Regions from separate parts of the Homo sapiens genome. Here region 2 is linked to region 1. The links are contacts of gene promoters, found by promoter capture Hi-C in human tissues and cell types (Jung and others, 2019). All regions are on one chromosome and are shown on one strand. Each heading gives the region's core, a stretch centred on a gene start or on the middle of the fragment in contact. The rest is flanking DNA. Distances are from core to core; before and after follow the strand shown.

Evidence for each region. The method cuts DNA at HindIII sites, captures the fragments that hold promoters and counts their contacts. A contact is called where the count stands out against the background at its distance.
Region 2: a contact is called between a fragment that was not itself captured here and the fragment with the promoter of BRAT1 in region 1, in 1 of the 25 tissues and cell types used here (lymphoblastoid cells).

The regions. Positions count from the first base shown.
Region 1 is chr7:2,554,157-2,556,856 of GRCh38, reverse strand. BRAT1 (BRCA1 associated ATM activator 1) reads left to right here and starts at 1,333. Exons shown (of 14, transcript NM_152743.4): 1 at 1,333-1,370; 2 at 2,410-2,552. The coding sequence starts at 2,426. RefSeq lists an enhancer at 749-1,426 and a silencer at 1,339-1,578. The HindIII fragment of the contact is 14,393 bases long and covers 1-2,700 here.
Region 2 is chr7:3,093,816-3,096,518 of GRCh38, reverse strand. LOC105375130 (a long non-coding RNA gene) reads left to right here. Exons shown (of 2, transcript XR_007060191.1): 2 at 934-2,393. Among named protein-coding and RNA genes, the nearest start is that of CARD11, 51 kb to the right of the region's middle. The HindIII fragment of the contact is 3,745 bases long and covers 1-2,703 here.

The DNA.
Region 1 (2,700 bases), core at 84-2,583:
TGCACTCCAGTCTGGGCAAAAAGAGTGACACTCCGTCTCCATAAATAAATAAATAAAATAAAGGTGACCCAGCAAAGTCAGTGCTTTTAAATTTTTAAATTTTAATATCCATAGGAATTCTGCTTTGTTTCCTAAATCTGGTGTTGGCTCCCAACAATCTTGCTATAAAACAATGCTTTGGGAACATGAGCCTTGTCTATCCACTGGCTTTGAGACTCTCGAACACACAGTTAGTGTTTTGAACTCAATTTTTTGGACCTAGTTTTTCTGCCTGTTTGCTTTCTTAAAACACAGGGTCTTGCTCTGTTGCCCAGGCTGGAGTGCCGGGGCAGGATCATAGCTCACTGCAGCCTTGAACTTCTGGGCTCAAGCGATCCTCCCGCCTCAGCCTCTGGAGTAGCTGGGACCACAGGCGCATGCTACCAGGTCTGGCTGATTTTCTTTTTTTTTTTTTGAGACGGAGTCTCGCCCTGTAGCCCAGGCTGGAGTGCAGTGGCACCATCTTGGCTCACTGCAACTTCCGCCTCCCAGGTTCAAGAGATTCTCCTGCCTCAGTCTCCCGAGTACTTGGGATTACAGGCGCGCGCCTCCACGTCCGGCTAATTTTGATATCTTAGAGATACAAAAATTAGAGACGAGACGGGATTTCGCCATGTTGGCCAGGCTGGTCTCGAACTCCTGACCTCGTGATCCGCCCGCCTGGGCCTCCCAGAGCGCTGGGATTACAGGCGTGAGCCACCACGCCTGGCCTTTTTTTTTTTTTTTTTTTTTTTTTTTAAATTTTAAGAGATGGGGTCTCGCTTTGTTGCCTAGGCTGGTCTCAACTCCTGGCTTCAAGCAATCCTCCCAACTGCGCCTCCTAAAGGGCTGGAATTACAGGCATGAGCCACAGCGCGGCCGCGGAGGACTTAATTTGAGAACCTGAAGCTAAATGACCAAGGGCTTTGGTGCACGGATCAGGACGCTTCTCTCCGGCACATAGTTTTCTCGCTCCCGCCGGTGCAGACACTGGGCGCCCTGCAGGCGAAGCCCCGCCCCTCCGGACACAACCCCGCGCCTTCCTCAGAGATCCCCGCCCTCGAGACGCCCCGCCCACCCACCGGATGCTCGGCATGAACCACTAGGCGCCTGGCGGGGGTGATCTGTCGGAGCGACCGGCTTGGCGCCTGCCTGTCCCCAGCCCCTCTCAGCTTGAACTCCTTCCTTCAAGTCTGGGCCCTCGAGGCTTCCAGAGCGGCCTCCAGGGGTGCAGTCTCAGTTCCCCACGCCAGCCGTCTCCGTCCTCCGCCTCCTCCGGGCCTGGCAGGTGGCACTGTCCGGAGGCGGAGCCTTGGGCGAGGGGTGGTTGCGGCGGAGGACGCAACCGAGCGGTGAGGCGCGTGGGCCTTCGGGGGTCGAGGTCGTGGTAGTGGGGCGCGGGGAGGCCAAGACCCGGCCGAGGGGGGCGGGCGGGCCAGGGAGCAGCCCAGCCCGGGGCGTGCGCGACCTGGGCTCGCTTCCCAGCCCGACTGTGGCCGCCTGCTCTGGCGCCCCTTCTGGACTCTCGGGCCTGGCGCTCGCGGCCAAAACTGACTTCAAAGTGTGGGGAGGGTTCCTCTTCCCGGGACGCAGCCTTCCCGGGCATTGGCAGACGGTGCCCCGGTTAGACAGAGCCGCTGACCACCCCGCCCACCCCCGAGGCTGGACGCACGGATGCACACCTGGTCCTGGGAGAGACAGGCGCCCCTTCCTTTCCGCACCCCGCCGCCCCCCTCTCCCCCCCGCCGGCTTCAGATGCAGCCACCACTAATCCTGGGAGGGACAGACACACGGACAGGTGCCCCTTCCCCTCCTCACCCTCCTACTGGCTGCAGAACAGCAAATGCAGCCACCACTGACCCTGAGAGGGACAGACACACGGACAGGCGCCCCTTCCCCTCCGCACCCCCCTGCTGGCTTCAGGACGTCAAATGCAGCCACCACTTGACGCTGGGAGGGACAGAAACTTTCCAGCCCAGGCTGGCCCTGGGGCATGGGTAGACATCCCCTTGCACACATGGCTGACCCCGGAACTCAAAGATGCCCCTGACTCTGGCCCACCTGCAGCCTGGGCCAGCACCACGCTGTTGCCCCGACTGCACCAAAGACCAAGGGTGACAGACTTTGAGTTCCGGAGGCCTTGTGGTTTCAGCTAGACCCTCATCTGCCCCTTTCAGCCCCGCCACCAGCGCTCAGGGCCCCACCTAGACCAAAGCTTTGCATCCATCCCTGCAGTACAGACCTCTGGTCTGGGGATCATGGTTCTCCTGGTCTGAGATGAAAGTTCTGGGGCCCCTTCCCAGGCCTGAGCAGGCATGGTGGGCTGCTGTGACTAGAGCGAGCTGGGTCTGGAGTGGGCATTGAGGTTTGGCTCTCACATTGCCTTTGCAGGGCCTGCGGCCTCACCATGGACCCAGAATGCGCCCAGCTGCTCCCGGCTCTCTGTGCTGTTCTGGTAGATCCCAGGCAGCCGGTGGCAGATGACACCTGTTTGGAGAAGCTCCTGGACTGGTTTAAAACGGTCACTGAAGGAGGTAAGGAGGTGGTGCTGCTGTTTACTGCCTATCCAGAGACCAGACGCAGAGGCTGGGACAGGGAGCAGGGGCCAGATGGGGACTCCCCTGTCCTGGAGGAAGGGCAGAAACTGCCAATCAGATGTCTTTCCTTCACTTCCTAAGGATT
Region 2 (2,703 bases), core at 38-2,537, 540 kb before region 1:
CATTCAGATGTGTAATTAATGCCTGCTACATCGCGAAAAGCATCTATACCAGGTAGACAGTAATTTACTTTCCCATAAAACTTTAACACTTTTGCTAGAAACACTATTTTTTTTTTCACAACACATTGAAAGACTATTATCCAGGCAGCCTCTCTTTCGCAGGGACGTAGGGAGGGAAAATCTTTTAAGGGACTGGCATTCCATATTGGTACTTGAGCGTCTTGGCAGTGGGACGCATCGCCCTCTCACAGGGGTGACTGCCTGACTAATGAGGTCGCCCCCAGCAACATCCACATTTTAGACTGTATTGTGTGAGCTGCCCCAAATTGAGGTGATCTCCTGTCCAGACCAGGCTGTACTTTGGTTATTTACTTGCAATGAGATATCAAGAGACTGAAAGTGGTTTAAAAAAAAAACAAAAATCTCTTCCCTAATATATGGTGTATTATTATTATTATTATTATTATTATTATTATTATTTTGAGATGGAGTCTCACTCTGTTGCCGAGGCTGGAGTGCAATGGCACTATCTCGGCTCACTGCAACCTCAGCCTCCTGGGTTCAAGCGATTCTCCTGCTTCAGCCTCCTGAGTACCTGGGATTACAGGCATGCATAGCCACCCCTGGCTAATTTTGTATTTTTAGTAGAGACGGGGTTTCTCCATGTTGGTCAGGCTGGTCTTGAACTCCTGACATCAGGTGATCCGCCTGCCTCAGCCTCCCAAAGTGCTGGGATTACAGGCGTGAGCCAACACGCCAGGCGTTTCTGTTTGTTTGTTTGTTTTATTTTTAGTAGAGATGGGATTTCACCATGTTGGCCAGGCTTGTCTCAATCCTCTGACCTCAAGTGATCCACCTGCCTTGGCCTCCCAAAGTGCTGGAATTACAGGTGTGAGCCACTGTGCCTGGCCTCACATCTCCTCCTTTTAACAGGATAAACTAAACAGGCCTCAAGAATGTGACCTCCCACGCTCCTCCATGAACAGCTCTCTCCCTGCGTCCCAGCAACCAAAGACACTTGTTGATTTGGGAAAAACCCAGAGGAAGGATTCTGTCTGGATTTTCTGGTACCACTGACGCATTTTCACCCAGGCACATTCATCTGGTTCAAGACTGAATCTTTCCCTTTTTCATGAAACAGATTCTCCCCCTCTTTTAAGCCTCTGTGGGCTCCAGAATGAGTTGAACCGCTGTATCTTCTCATCACAGCGTTTCCCTCTTTGGACATGGGCTGAGACACACAGATTTCACGACTTCCTCTTTGGAGAAGGCATGAAAGGACCTGCAGCCACGGCCCCATACGTTTCAAGAGAGGCAAGGCTTTCACCCTCCGTGTCTTTCACAGCCATCCGCCCACAGCCTCTTAACTTCCTGACATTAAACAAAAACGAAACCGAGGTTTCCCTAATTGGGGATCATCATCAAGAATCTGTCATGGGGTCTCTTAGAAATTAATTCAACTCGATTGTTCTTCAGACCTCCGCTAAGGAGCCGGCGTGTTACTCTCGACACCAACTTGTCCCATCTTCATCCTATATTAGCTCCCTAACAGGGTTGCACGATCAGCTCCTAGGCTGCAAATTAGAAAAATGGGCGATGATTCCAGCAGCTACGCCTCGGCACTCTCACGCCGGATTACTGTGATGGTCTCCTTGCAAGGCTTCCGGATCTTTCTATGTGGGTTGAAATTGGTTCCAACTGTAACTTCCTGTTGATCTCCCACCCTGAATTCCCTCATTGATGCAACATTTTGTTAAAAAAGAACTTCACCGAATTACCCATTTCATGGAAATTGCAATAGGGTATTGACTTGTATAGTTAATGAAGCTTTCAAAAAAGCACTCCTGTAGCCATCATCTAAATGCCCCTCTGGCCACCAAAACTGTGCATGTAATTCACTGTAGTGAGGATTCCTGAGTCTCCCTAAGGGAGATCCAGTAGGATCAGTTCTGGGTGGGATCCGTCAGCAAACACAACCTATTGCCCGCCTCCTTCTGGTTTCCAGTCCCGGGGGGTAATTGATGTCTTAGTGCACACAGAGCCGGACCATGGAGCTAAGTAGATATGGGTTTCCAACTCATCCCGGCCACTTCCCAGGGGCATGTCCAGGGGCAAGTTAGTAACTCTCTTGAACCTCAGTTTCCTCATCTGCAGAGTGTGGATCATCACAAACCTACCTTCTGGGGTTGCTAGGGGATTAAAGGAGATAAGGAGCATAGCAGGGCTGGCCCTGTGCCTGCCTGGAGTGGGCACCAAGCTGACTTCGCTGGGGCTCTCCCGGCCCCACATACCTGCAATGGTTTTGCCTTTGGCTCGATGTCTGAAGCCTTTGCATTTCTGAAGGGAGTGATGTAAATCAAGCCATGCTTATGATTAAAAACATCCAACGTTCAGCTCAGTTGTTTGTCCTATTTTGGCAACATCCTATTCTTTTGTTGTTGCTGTTTTTGAGATAGGATCTTGCTCTGGGGCCCAGACTGGAGTGCAGTGGTACAATCATGGCTCACTGCAGCCTCAACCTCCTGGGCTCAAGTGATCCTCCTGCCTCAGCCTCCCGAGTAGCTGGGACTATAGGTGTTCACCACCATGCCTGGCTAGTTTTTTAATTTTAATAGAGATGAGGTCTCATTATGTTACCCAGACTGATTTCAAACACCCAGGCTCAAGTGATCCTCCCACCTCAGCCTTCCAAAGTGCTGCCAT